Linked DNA regions of Homo sapiens: region 1 is linked to region 2. Evidence: promoter capture Hi-C in 16 types of primary human blood cells and fetal thymus (Javierre and others, 2016). All regions are on one chromosome and are shown on one strand. Each heading gives the region's core, a stretch centred on a gene start or on the middle of the fragment in contact. The rest is flanking DNA. Distances are from core to core; before and after follow the strand shown.

The links. The method cuts DNA at HindIII sites, captures the fragments that hold promoters and counts their contacts. A CHiCAGO score of 5 or more calls a contact.
Region 1: a contact is called between a fragment that was not itself captured here and the fragment with the promoter of ZNF367 in region 2, in 1 of 17 cell types (neutrophils). The highest score is 5.4, in neutrophils.

Annotation. Positions count from the first base shown.
Region 1 is chr9:97,605,163-97,612,031 of GRCh38, reverse strand. TSTD2 (thiosulfate sulfurtransferase like domain containing 2) reads left to right here. Exons shown (of 10, transcript NM_139246.5): 5 at 333-458; 6 at 1,581-1,686; 7 at 5,771-5,889; 8 at 6,391-6,549. Among named protein-coding and RNA genes, the nearest start is that of TSTD2, 25 kb to the left of the region's middle. The HindIII fragment of the contact is 2,164 bases long and covers 2,490-4,653 here.
Region 2 is chr9:96,416,526-96,423,309 of GRCh38, reverse strand. It overlaps ZNF367 (zinc finger protein 367), which reads left to right and starts at 4,940. Exons shown (of 5, transcript NM_153695.4): 1 at 4,940-5,697. The coding sequence starts at 5,278. RefSeq lists enhancers at 1,273-2,059, 1,876-3,075, 3,592-4,125, 4,126-4,659, 6,134-6,373 and silencers at 3,794-4,063, 4,324-4,983, 5,094-5,233, 5,534-5,773. The HindIII fragment of the contact is 11,520 bases long and covers 1-6,784 here.

The DNA.
Region 1 (6,869 bases), core at 2,322-4,821, 1.2 Mb before region 2:
TTTGGAGGGTGGAGGGTGGAAGGAGGGAGAGGATCAGGAGCATAACTAAGGGGTACTAAGCTTAATACCTGGGTGGTGAAATAATCTGCACAATAAACCCCCATGACACAGTTTTACCTGCAGAGCAAACCTGCACTTGTATCCCTGGACTTAAAAGTTTAAAATAAAAAAGAAAAACACAGATATCTTTGTCCAGTAACACTTTGGTGTCCTCATCAGCGTCTCTGCTTTTCCTGTTAAACTCATTGACACACATGAGCCTATTGTTCTTCCCTGGAAAGATAACCAAGCTAAGAACAATCTGTTCTCTTTTTCACCGTCTTGTGTCTCAGATTCGAATTGCTGCAGAAGGAATCAATGGGACAGTTGGTGGAAGCAAATTGGCTACCAGACTTTATGTGGAAGTCATGCTTTCCTTCCCATTGTTTAAGGATGACCTGTGTAAAGATGATTTTAAGGTAAGAGAAAATGAAAATTAAATGGATCTAGAGCCATCTGCTTCTGCCTCTGTGCATGTTATTGAAGAGGAGTTCAAAGTAGAGAAATAAGCAGTGCCAAATAAATACCCTTTCCCCTTTATTTTTTGGGGCTTGGGGAGTTTTTTTGTTTTGTTTTTTGACAGGGTCTTGCTCTGTCACCCAGGCTGGAGTGCAGTGGCGTGATCATGGCTCACTGCAGCCTCAACCTCCCTGGGCTCAGGTGATCCTCCCAGGTAGCTAGGACCATAGGCGTGCATCACCATGTCTGGCTAATTTTTTTGTAGAGACGGGGTCTCACTATGTTGCCCAGGCTGGTATGGAACTCTTGGGTTCAAGCAGTCCTCCCACGTCAGCCTCCTATAGTGCTGAGATATGGACGTGAGATACCGCACCTGCCCCCTTTCCCCTTTAAATGTGCTTTTCTCTTTAGGTTACGAGACAGTACAATAGAAGGAGTATGCTCGTCCCCATTCTTTCACTGAGTCACCATATGATTTTGGACCAGCTAGTGCTCTAGACCTCAGTATCCCTTCTTATAAAATAAGAATGTTACAGCTCATGCAATCTGGGACTCCAAATCTTGGACATATTAGCTCACTTGAGAGACCACCAGCCTGGTCAGCAGATCACTGTGTTTTTAGTAAATCTGGAATTGTAAGATTAACACTTCATACCACATGGGGGAATAAAGTTGTTGCTCTCACAGGTGGGCTGCTTTGTTTGAGTGACTTTATACCTTGTCATAATAAGTGATAAGGTGATGGGAAATGCCTTGCTAGCGTTCATGCTGGCAATGATAGGAAAAGAATGAAAACCGGGTATAGTCACATGTTAGAATTGCTCAGCGGTGTTGCAGTTTTATAATTAAATGCTTACACCTAAAGAAACACTTTTTCAGCTTAACATTCCTGCACATGGCAGGTATGCAGTAAGTATTTATCAATGTTGAATTATCTGGAACATTCTGGGCCCTAACTAGAGGTTTTTTAAGACTTCAGCTATTGTTATTACAAAACAGACCATCATTCTTATATTGGCACTTGTCTTATACCTGGAGATGGGACAGCAAGACTGTATTCTGTTTTGTTTCTCATTGGCTAGACCAGCAAAGGAGGAGCTCACTGTTTTCCAGAATTGCGTGTTGGTGTATTTGAAGAAATCGTGCCCATGGGGATCAGCCCCAAAAAGATCTCCTACAAGAAGCCTGGTATGCTTGCTTTTAGAAGATTGTGCTTTAATTCACAGGGACAAAACTTAATAGACAAATAAGAAAGCTAGGCACTGTGATCAGCAGCAGTCATGAGTCCTCTCTAAAGCAGCTGTGGGGTGGCTAACACTTGGCTGCATCCAGTGCTTATACTGTTTCTCTGTGGTGCTGTGGGGTTGAAGACTCACCTCTTCGAGTGACCTATCTTATTCCTCTTGGTGATGGTTTATCAATTAGTTGTTTGCTCTTTCCAAAGACAGCAAGCAGTTTGGGAAGAGTGTAATTATTACTTGTAAACAGTTCATTAGCAGAATAGAGCAAATAGGCCTTTTGCTACAGGAAACAAGTTGCTTTCAACACCACAGCAGTTTTCACTGTGCTCTAGAATGTTCTTTCCCCATCTTCTCCATGGTAAATGGTTGAAAGACATTTGTTTGGCAGGTTTTTGGGGGTTTTATTGTAGTTTTTACTATGAAAAATTTTAAACATTAAAAAAGTAGAGAAAATAATATAGTGAAGTTCTATGTACCTATCATGCAGCTTTAGCAGTTAACTGATTAATGGCCAGCTCTCACCTATACCCCATCCCTTCTCCCATCTTGGATTATTTTGAAAGCAACCCCAATGTCAGGCCATTTCATTTGTAAATATTTTTAGTAGGTATGTCTAAAAGATAAAAATTTGTTTTAAAAGATGCAAAACGATATCACATCTTAAAACATTTTAACTGATTCCTTAATAAATTATCAAATATCTAGTTGGTTTAGTCACTCAATTCCCGGTTGTCTCATACTTTTTAAGCTTCATTTCTATTAGGATTTAAATAAGGTTCATTCACTGTGATTCATCAGTATGTCTCTTTAAGTGTCTTTCAACCTATAGATTTGTTTCCATCTTTTTTTCCCCCCTTGCAGTTTATTTTTGAAGGAACTGGATCATTTGACCTTTAGAGTTTCCCATAATCTGGACAATAATAATTGTATTCCCAAGATATATTTCTCTGTCCTCTTTATTTCCTATAAGTTGATCATTAGATTTAGAGTAGTGCTAATAGAAGTATAATGTGAGCTACACAATTTTACATTTTCTAGTAGCCATGTCTTTAAAAGTAAAAAATAGATGAGATTAATTTAAATAATATGGTTTTCTTAATGCAGTATATCAAAAATATTATTTCAACATGTAATCAATATAAAAAATTATTAGTTTACTTTTTTTCATGCTAAGTCCTTGAGATTCAGTATGTATGTCACCCCTATTATAGCACAAGTGCTTGTCAGCCACATGTGGCTAGTAGCTACTGTATTAACAACCAGGACTAGAGACTTGATCAGATTCCAATTTGATTTCTTTTTCTCCCGCCACCAAGACTACATAAGCACTGTTGTCTTCTTTGATCAGGAAGCACAAAGGTCTGGTTGACTCCATGGTGTTCATTTTGTAATATGTAAAGTTTTGAAAGAAGTCTAAGAGTGAAGCCAGGGGGAAACGGGATTAGGATACAGGCATCTGGGAAAGAGACTCATGCATGGGGAGATGAGGGCCAGAAAGAGCTGTTGTCTGCTTACTGTTCCCATCTTAGCAGGAGGCAGTATGACTACAAACAGCTTTTCCTGGGCACTGCAGGACATTGCAGGCAGAGAGTGGGCTCTAGGCAGTGCTGTCTTGTTTTCACTTGAAGGAAGTTTAAAGGGACCTCTTTTTCTTTTTTTGAGACAGTCTTGCTCTGTTGCCTGGGCTGGAGTGCAGTGGCGTGATTTCAGCTCACTGTAACCTTTTCCCCCGGGGTTCAAGCGATTCTCCTGCCTCAGCTTCCCAAGTTGCTGGGATTACAAGTGTGCGCCACCACACCCGGGTAATTTTTGTATTTTTAGTAGAGATGGGGTTTCGCCACACTGGCCAGGCTGGTCTCAAACTCCTGACCTCAAGTGATCTGCCCACCTCAGCCTCACAAAGTGCTGGAATTATAGGCATCAGCCACCGCACCTGGTAAAGAGATGTCTTTTAAACACATCCATGCTGGTCACTGTCCAAACAATCGTTCTCAGGGCCAGTAGAACAACTGCAATCATAGCAGCAGGGAACAGGTTTGGTTTCCTGTGGCTTCCTGCAGGTAGAAGTCTTAGCACATTTCCATGCTTTTCATCCCATGTTTGTTTGTTTGAGATGGAGTCTCACTCTGTTGCTCAGGTTGGGGTGCAGTGGCGCAATCTCAGCTCACTGCAACCTCTGCCTCCTGGGTTCAAGAGATTCTCCTGCCTCAGCCTCCCGAGTAGCTGGGACTACAGGCATGCGCCACCACGCCCAGCTAATTTTTTTTGTATTTTTAGTAGACGGGGTTTCGCCATGTTGACCAGTTTGATCTGCAACTCCTGGCCTCAAGTGATTCACCTGCCTCAGCTTCCCAAAGTGCTGGGATTATAGGCGAGAGCTGCCTCACCCACGCCTGGCCTTTTTTTGAGACGGAGTCTCACTCTGTTGCCCAGGCTGGAATGCTCACTACAACCTCTGCCTCCCAGTTTTGTGTAGTTCTCCTGCCTCAGCCTACTGAGTAGCTGGGAGCTAAAGGAATGTGCCACCACACCTGGCTAATTTTTGTATTTTTAGTAGAGACGGGGTTTCACCATGTTAGCCAGGCTGGTCTTGAACTCCTGACCTCAGGTGATCCGCCTGCCTCAGCTTCCCAAAGCATTAGGATTATAGGTGTGAGCCACCATGCCTGGCCTACGTCCCATGTTTGAATCTCCCTTTTCACCCCACTCTTTTTGTATCCATGTAATTGTGTGACAGTACCTTATATAGAATCTGGCCTTACTACATTCTCATTACAACCATAACTCAGGCAGGTAGCAATCCAGATTCCTTGGCCTGGCTCTGGGCCCTCATCTCTCCTTGGTGTGGAGTAGTTTCATTGGTTGTTGGGGTTCCTCTCTGAGGGGAATGAGGCTCCTTTGGTGCTGTAAAGCTTTATCATGAGTGGTAGGTAACTGAGTCACCAGAGCCCCTGCCCATGAGGCATGGCTACCTCATAATGCAGATTCACCAAAAGTTCCTCACAATCTACTGAGATTTCTGGACCCTCAAAGATAGGGGAATATTTCTATCCTAGAGAGTTACAAGGCAAAGAGCCCCAGGAGACTGAGGTTCTCTCCTATTAGTCCCTTTGTATATATATTTTTTGAGACAGGGTCTTGCTCTATTGCCCAGGCTGGAGTACAGTGGTGTGATCATAGCTCACTGAGGCCTTGATCTCTTGGGCTCAAGGGGTCCTCCTGCATCAGCCTCCAAAGTAGCTGAGACTACAGGCACACACTACCATGGCCAGCTAATTTTTTAAATTTTTTTTAGAGACAGAGTCTCGCTATGTTCCCCAGGCTTCCCCTTGTATTTTAATACTTACCCATCTTCTAGCTTTCCTGTCTTTTTCTCTCCTTTACTTTCTTTCTCATATGTCGTTTCTGTTGTCCACCCCTCTTGCCCTTTTCTCTTTTACTCATGCACACACACTTAGACACATTCTTCTTGCTCCTTTGCATTAAAAATGTATCTATTCCAACTTTATTCCATAACTTTTTGCTCACACCTGCCTGTGGGTTCTTAGCCTTCAACGTGGGTTCGACCTTAATATAGAACAGTTTACAAAGCCTGTAGTCAGCCACGTACTTGCCCAGCTCCTCCATGTACAGTGACAATAGAGCAGTGGCCATTTCCTGACCTACCAGTGACCATACAATGGACCAGCAAATTCACATGGCAATTTAGATCCCAGTTGCCTGGTTTTTATCACTAGGGTTAGGCCAAGTATGAGGATGCAAAATTCTTTGACTAGTTATTTCTAAACTACCAGGTCTCCATTGCCCTCATTTTAGGAGGAGGGAGATTGAGGATACCTGGAATTACTGGAATTACTAAGTTATTTCATCATGATCATCAAGTAGTGTTCTTTTCAGACAGTTGTAATTATGAAGAGAAGAGATTTGGGTGGAAAGAAACAAAGCAACACGTAAGTCAGGCTGGGTGAGTCATGATTGGGTTTTGGTTTTTTTGTCTTTGTTTTAATATAATTTTTTTGGTTTGGTTTTAGGAATCCATTTATCCCCAGGTGAATTTCATAAAGAAGTAGAAAAGTTTTTATCTCAGGCAAATCAAGAACAAAGTGATACTATCCTTCTTGATTGCAGAAACTTCTATGAAAGCAAAATAGTAAGTAAAAGCCAGAACTGAGTTCTCTGAATTGGTAGATCTCCCCATTCCCACAGTGTGGTATATTTCCCAAGGGGACCTTGTGTGTGCCCACCTGTGGCCACATGGATCTCCTCCCAGTACTGGCAGCTTCAGAGAAAACCCAAGTCCTAAAACTCAGAAATCTGGTGAGAGAGTCTAAGAAAATATGAATTAAAGGCATCCAGGCACATAATATACTTTGTGACTCCCATGAGCCTGCCTTTGACATGTATCAAGGATCTTGCAAAGTTGCCTTTGGGCAGCCTCTCCAGTTCCCCTGAGGACCCTGGGAAGGTGACCCACAGCCCACAGCCTCGGTTTTAAGTTGAGATCTTGAAGTTGAAAGGTCAGAGTGGGGATGAGATTAGCAACTGGCAGGGGCTTCTTTGCTAAGTAGGGTTTGTTGGGTACAAAAAGAACCTTTGTTCCTACCAGGTATGTTTTTCTGATAATTTTCCTTTTGTTGCTCCTATGTTACAGGGACGATTCCAAGGCTGCTTAGCCCCAGACATCAGGAAATTCAGTTACTTCCCTAGCTACGTTGACAAAAATCTAGAACTTTTCAGAGAGAAGAGAGTGCTGATGTACTGTACCGGGGGCATCCGCTGTGAGCGGGGTTCAGCCTACCTCAAAGCCAAGGTGAGCCACCACCCCGGGGCACTGTGGGCATGGCAGTGAAGGAGGCAGCTCCACCAGCAGCTTACGTGGAGCTGTCCGCTGCCCCCAGTACTCCCCACCCCCAGGCAGCCAAAGCATGCCTTCACCCCTCGTATGGCTCCAGCATGGAGTTCGTAAGTACAAAATCTGAGGGTCTTTAATCTCAAGATATGAAAAACACTTAACAGTCATAGAGACTCATCAGATGTAAAAGGGAGAGATTAGTTAACATCTCCCTTTTCCTGATCCTTTTGCTTGATCCTGAGAAGAGCAAATTCAGTAACATTACATGTCCCAACAGG
Region 2 (6,784 bases), core at 3,691-6,190:
GTATCTCTCATCAATAAAACCAAATGCTGGGGTCCGGCACCATGGCTCATGCCTGTAATCCCAGCACTTTGGGAGGCCAAGGTGGACGGATCACTTGAGCCCAGGAGTTGGAGACCAGCCTAGCCAACATGGTGAAATCTCATCTCTACTAAAAATACAAAAATTAGCTGGGTGTGGTGGCGCATGCCTATAGTCCCAGCTACTCGGGAGGCTGAGGCTGGAGAGTAGCTTTAACTCAGGAGGCAGAGGCCGCAGTGAGCTGACATCTTGCCACCGCACTCCAGCATGGGCGACAGAGCTAGACTCCCTCTCAAAAACATAAAAAATAAAAATGGGCCAGGCGCGGTGACTCATGCCTGTAATCCCAGCACTTAGGGAGGCCGAGGCGGGCGGATCACAAGGTCATGAGATCGAGACCATCCTGGGTAACACGGCGAAACCCCATCTTTACTAAAAATACAAAAAAAATTAGCCGGTCGTGGTGGCAGGCGCCTGTAATCCCAGTTACTCAGGAGGCTGAGGCAGGAGAATGGTGTAAACCCGGGAGGTGGAGCTTGCAGTGAGCCGAGATCGCGCCACTGTACTCCAGCCTGGGCGACAGAGCGAGACTCCATCTCAAAAAAAAAAAAAAAGTGTGTGTGTATGTGTGTGTGTATATATATATATACACATATATATAAAATTAAAAATAAAATATTTTATATATATTATATATTATATAATAAATATATAATATTTAATTAATATATAATATATTATATATTATATATAATAATTAATACATATTATATTATATATTTATATACACATAATTAATATATTATAATAATTAATATATAATATTTAATATATTTATATATAAATGTGTATATATATATATATATATAATTAAAAATAAAAACAAAGTGAAACAAAAAACCTTGCTTTTTTTTGTTGTTGTTGTTGTTATTTTGAGATGGAGTCTCACTCTGTCGCCCTGGCTGGAATTCAGTGGCGTGATCTAGGCTCACTGCAACCTCCGCCTCCTGGGTTCAAAAGACTCTCCTGCCTCAGCCTCCCCAGTAGCTGGGACCACAGGCGCATGCCACCATGCCCAGCTAATTGTTTTTGGATTTTTAGTAGAGATAGGGTTTCACCATGTTGGCCAGGATGGACTTGATCTCCTGACCTCAGTTGATCCATCTGCGTTGGCCTCCCAAAGTGCTGGGATTACAGGTGTGAGCCACCACCCCTGGCCTGCTATGTTTTACATAGACTTTAATAACTGCTGCTTTGTCTTACTTCAATTTTATCTTGAAACTTTAAAATACATTTTTTTTAAAACGGGGTTTGAGGTTTCTATCTTTATCAGAAGGGGTATATATATGTAAAATATATATATACATATATATAAAATATATATATATACATATATACATATATAAAATATATATATCTACTTATATATATAAAATATATATATATCTACTTATATATATAAAATATATATATATATCTACTTATATATATATATATTTTTTTTTTGAGATGGAGTCTCGCTCTGTCGCCCAGGCTGGAGTGCAGTGGCGTGATCTCCACTCACTGCAACCTCCACCTTCCGGGTTCACGCCATTCTCCTGCCTCAGCCTTCCGAGTAGCTGGGATTACAGGCGCCCGCCACTACGCCCGGCTAATTTTTTGTATTTTAAGTAGAGACGGGGTTTCACCCTGTTAGCCAGGATGGTCTCAATCTCCTGACCTCATTCATGATCTGCCCACCTCGGCCTCCCAAAGTGCTGGGATTATAGCTGTCAGCCACCGCGCCCAGCTGAAGGGGCCTATATTTTTAAGAGTTGAAAATGCTACTTTAGTAATATAGTAAGTATCCTGAGATAGGTTTCAGTATTTTTCAGATTTAGTATGTATTGTTGTTACCGGAAAGGGGTCCTGATCCAGACCCCAAGAGAGGGTTCTTGGATTTCTCACAAGAAATAATTCAGGGCGAGTCCGCAGTGCAGAGTGAAAGCAAGTTTATTGAGAAAGTAAAGGAATAAAGAATGGCTACTCCATAGGCAGAGCAGCCCTGAGGGCTGCTGGTTGCCCATTTTTATGGTTATTTCTTGATGATATGCTAATCAAGGGGTGGATTATTCATGCTTCCCCTTTTTAGACCATATAGGGTAACCTTCTGACGTTGCCATGGCATTGTAAACTGTCACGGCGCTGGTGGGAGTGTAGCAGTTGAGGAGGACCACAGGTCACTCTCATGGCCATTTTGGTTTTGGTGAGTTTTGGCCGGTTCCTTTACTGCAACCTGTTTTATCAGCAATGTGTTTATGACCTGTATTTTGTGCTGACCTCCTATCTAATGCTGTGACTTAGAATGCCTTAACCGTCTGGGAATGCAGCCCAGTAGGTTTCAGCCTCATTTTACCCAGCTCCTTTTTAAAATGGAGTTGCTCTGGTTCACAGGCCTCTGACATTATGGGCTGTTAATATCTGAGACAGAACAAAGACATCAGGAATATGATCCATACACTTCAGACAGCTTCTTCATTGCATGAAAATGGAGCCAAACAAGCAAAGATCTGGTATGACCTCAGCTTTGCTCCTGGAATCACCTTCTGCCCAGTTCACACATTCCTGGCATGTCTTTCATTCTCTTGGGGAAGAGAGCAAGTGGAGTTGCCAGGTTACTGTTGATGAAGGGCAATTTTTAGAAGCAGAAAGTCAGCATCCTGTGCTGGATGATTCATCTTGCCCTCTGGGGCATGCTCTGAATGTTAAACAGTAACTATTTGTTGGTGATTAATCTGTTGGATTTTGCTCAACCCCTAATTCGAGTGTCCATGATGGATAGATCACTTTTTTCTTTACACTACTTGTCAAGTATAAAACAGATGGATAACATTTCCCTTCCAACTGATTCAGAAAAATATGTTTTTTGGTATTAAACTGTAAAAACAAAATGTATGTTTACTAAATTAGGTGAAAGTAGGGCTGAACTTTCAACTTTCTAGATCAACCATTACAATATGAAATTTGCCCCTAAACCCTGAAAGTTTTGGAATATGAGAAACGGGACCGAGAAATGTGTGAGTCCCATTTTTCAGCCTTTTCCTCCTTTTGCTCAGCAGACACTGAATATAATCCACAGGCAGTACAGACTTATTCTTCCAAAGGATTTATTATGTAATCTTGTACAAGCCTCAACTTTTCTCATTTATAAAATGGGAAAAATATCTTCCTTACCCAATTGTTGAGTGAACTGTGAAACATCCATATGTATTATTGTGTATCAGTACATATATGCTATTTTTGTAGTAGGCCTCCAGAAAATGGAGGCTATATACTGTTTCATTTCTTAAAAGGATACTTTCACTTGGTTCAAAGTTCAAAAGATAGTTATATATTGTATTTCTTGAAATCTTTTCACTTCTGTTCCCAGCCACACAATTTCCCTCCATGATCCATGTTTCTTTTGCATCTTGCCAGATATTTTATGTACGTCTAAAAGTAAAAACGTATTTTCCCCACTTTAACAATTTTACATAAAATCACACTATTGCTTGTTTTGCCTTTTAAAATAAAAATACATTTTTGAAATTGTTCATATCAGTACAGTTTCCTTTATTTGTTTTTAAACAATTGTGGCTTAATTTAGTCATAGCTGTGCATTTGTGTGTCTTTCACAGAGAGAAAAGCTATTCAGCTTAGTTATCTGTTATTATACAGTCGTGTTCTAACTTAATTACCAATCCTAACCCTTAACCAATGGATATTCATTCATCCATTCAGCAAATATTTATTGAGCCCCTACCGCGAATCAGGCGGTGCCTGGGAATCTGTATTCCCAAGAACAAAACGCAGCTCCCCAGGCCACATCTAGCGGGTAGGAAGCCGGGCAACCCCTCCGCCCGGTCCTTCCTCTGCAGCCTGCGAGCCCCACCCGGGCCGCGGTCGGCGCCAGCCAGGCGGGGCTGGGGCGGGGCGGGCAGAGGACGTTGGGGCTCCGCGCGTCCCGGCGCGAGTACTAGGACGCGGCCGGGGCAGGTGGGGGCCGAGCAAAGTAGGGCGCTGCCCCGACTCCCGGAGCAGCCGCTCGGTAGAGCGGGGTCGCCGGGGTGGGGAGATCCCCGAGGCAACTTCGGGGCATCAGTCCAGGGTGAGAGTGTCTACTCTCGCCCGGCTCTTGTGGCCTCCGCGCCGCGAGCGGCCCGCAGGGACTTCGGAGGCCACTTCCTGGACTCTCCCCTTTCCACAGATGGGGAACCGGAGGCCCACAATCGGCCCGGAGGAGTCAGGGCGGTGCTGACAGGGCTGGTTCACAGAGCGTGCAACAGCTGAGCAGACGGAACTCGATTAAGAAACCAGGCACGCCGGGTGCCCATCAGGACCTCGGGCAGCAGAGACTCCAGCCGCCGGGCGGGTGGTGGGACCGAGGGCGGGGCGGGCGGCGGGGCCCCAGCCCTTTAAACTCCCTGCGCGCGGGAACCGCGGCCCAACAACCAACGGCGGGCGGGGCCGAGCGGGGCGCGCGCCTCCACCGCCCAACGATCACCACCCCCCCCGACCCCGCCCCGCCGCTGTCCAATCAGCCGCCCTCTTGCCGCCCTCCCCGCCGCCCTTGTCTCCCTGGCCCGGACTAACCACGCGGAGGGACGGCGGGGCGGGGCGGCAGGCGGGTGTGTCCGGGCGAGTGGAGACGCCGCGCGCTCCACTGGAGTTTCGAACGCTGTTGGCCCTCCAGACAGAAAAAAATATAAGAGCGGCGGCCAATGGCGAGGTGGGAAGGACCCGCGCGCAGACCCGGCCCCGCCCCGGCCGGCTGGAAAGAAGGCCAGGCCTGGCCATTGGCTCGCGCCGCCTGTCACTCGCCGGTGCGGCCAGCGGGCAGCGGCCTCGCGGTGACTGGTTCCGCCCAGGCGCGAAATGTAACGCGGGAAAAGCCGGGGCAGGCACCGCGGCGGCAGGTTGTTATTTTTGGGGGCTCAGCGCCGCGCGTCCTGCTTTCCTGTCACCGCAAGGGCCGGGCCGCCCGCTGCTTCCCACCCCTGCAGCCTGCGCTGCGGAGTACAAAGAGCGGAGGGCGCGCTTGACCTGGGGCTGGGGTCCAGCCCTGCCCGCCGGTGCCGTCTGCTCAACTAGTTAGGTGGCTGCTGCGCAGGATTCCGGGAAACGTCAGTCTGCCATGAGCCGGCAGGACTGAGCCTGCGACTCGGAGCAGAGCGAGTGAGGGGCAGAGCGGTGCTCAGGAGTGCGGCCCGGGGCCGCCGGAGCTGGGGGTCGGGCCGGGCGATGATCCGGGGCTTCGAGGCGCCCATGGCGGAGAACCCGCCGCCGCCGCCGCCGCCCGTCATCTTCTGCCACGACTCCCCGAAGCGGGTGCTGGTGTCGGTCATCAGGACGACCCCGATCAAGCCAACGTGCGGCGGTGGAGGGGAGCCGGAGCCGCCGCCGCCGCTCATCCCCACCAGCCCCGGCTTCAGCGACTTCATGGTGTACCCGTGGCGCTGGGGCGAGAACGCACACAACGTGACGCTCAGCCCTGGGGCCGCGGGGGCCGCCGCCTCGGCCGCCCTGCCTGCAGCCGCAGCCGCCGAGCACTCGGGGCTTCGTGGCCGGGGCGCGCCCCCGCCCGCCGCCTCGGCCTCCGCCGCCGCCTCGGGAGGTGAGGACGAGGAGGAAGCGAGCAGCCCAGACAGCGGCCACCTCAAGGTGAGCGGCGCGGGCGGGCGGGCGGGCGGGACGTGGGGCAGCCGGGGCCCGTTAACGGTGCGGCGGGCGGGGCGGAGTTGAAAACGCGAGGTCGATCCGGCTACGGCGGGGGCTGCGGCTGACAGGATGCTGACGTCACTGCCGCGCGCCAAAAACCGGCCCCAGTCGGGGGGGGCCTGTCACGTGACAGGCGGGAGCGGCGCGGGAGACCGTCCTTGCGGCAGGTGCAGTGGGCGGGAGCGCGGCCCGGGGTCGCTGGGGAGGCCGGGTCAACGGCCACTGACATCCTCCCGGCGGGCTGCCGAGTCCTCAGTTCCGAGAGGAAACGAGAGGGATGAGGGCCTTGAGTTGTTCCACCGACTGCGAGAGGGCAGGGAGCGCACAGTGTTTGCTCCATTACTGCAGATCGCCCTCGCCCTGTTAAAAGATGCCCTGCAGAGACAGCCGAAGAGCAAGAAAGGACTTCTGGGCCTGTTCTGCGGCTGAAGTTGTGCCTTCGCTGCCTTTCATTTATCCAGCATACTACTTGCTAGGTGTTGAGAGCACATAGTGGAATGGGACGCTAAAATTGCTTGCAGTCTCCGACTGCTTAAAGCTGGGAAGGTCGTTACCACTGGTTCAAACCTATTTTACAGATCAGGCAGCTGGGGCTTACAGTGATTAGTGAGGCGACCTTCCCACGATGGCACAGCTCAGTAGTGGAAGAGCGGGGACTAGGTCGAGGTTTTGTGGCTTTTAGTCCTGCATGTGTTTGGGGTGACTTTCTGCTGACTTATACTGAACTCTGTAGACTGTAAGCTCCAGGTGAGCCAGGAGTATTTCTATCTAGAAGACTATATGACTTTACTACCTTACATTCTGTAAATGCTCAATAAAGGTGCTCAAAAAATATTTGTGTAATGAATGAATGGTGCTAACAGAAGGGTAATATCCAGGTTCCATTTGTTAAGTGGCTGTATAAGATAAGCAATTTGCAAGAGATAACAAGTAAATCACATAGTGGATAACTGCATCTGTATCAGCACATAATGTATAAGTTGAAACGAGTTTGATCATTTTACATGCAGTCACAAGGATGTTGAAACTA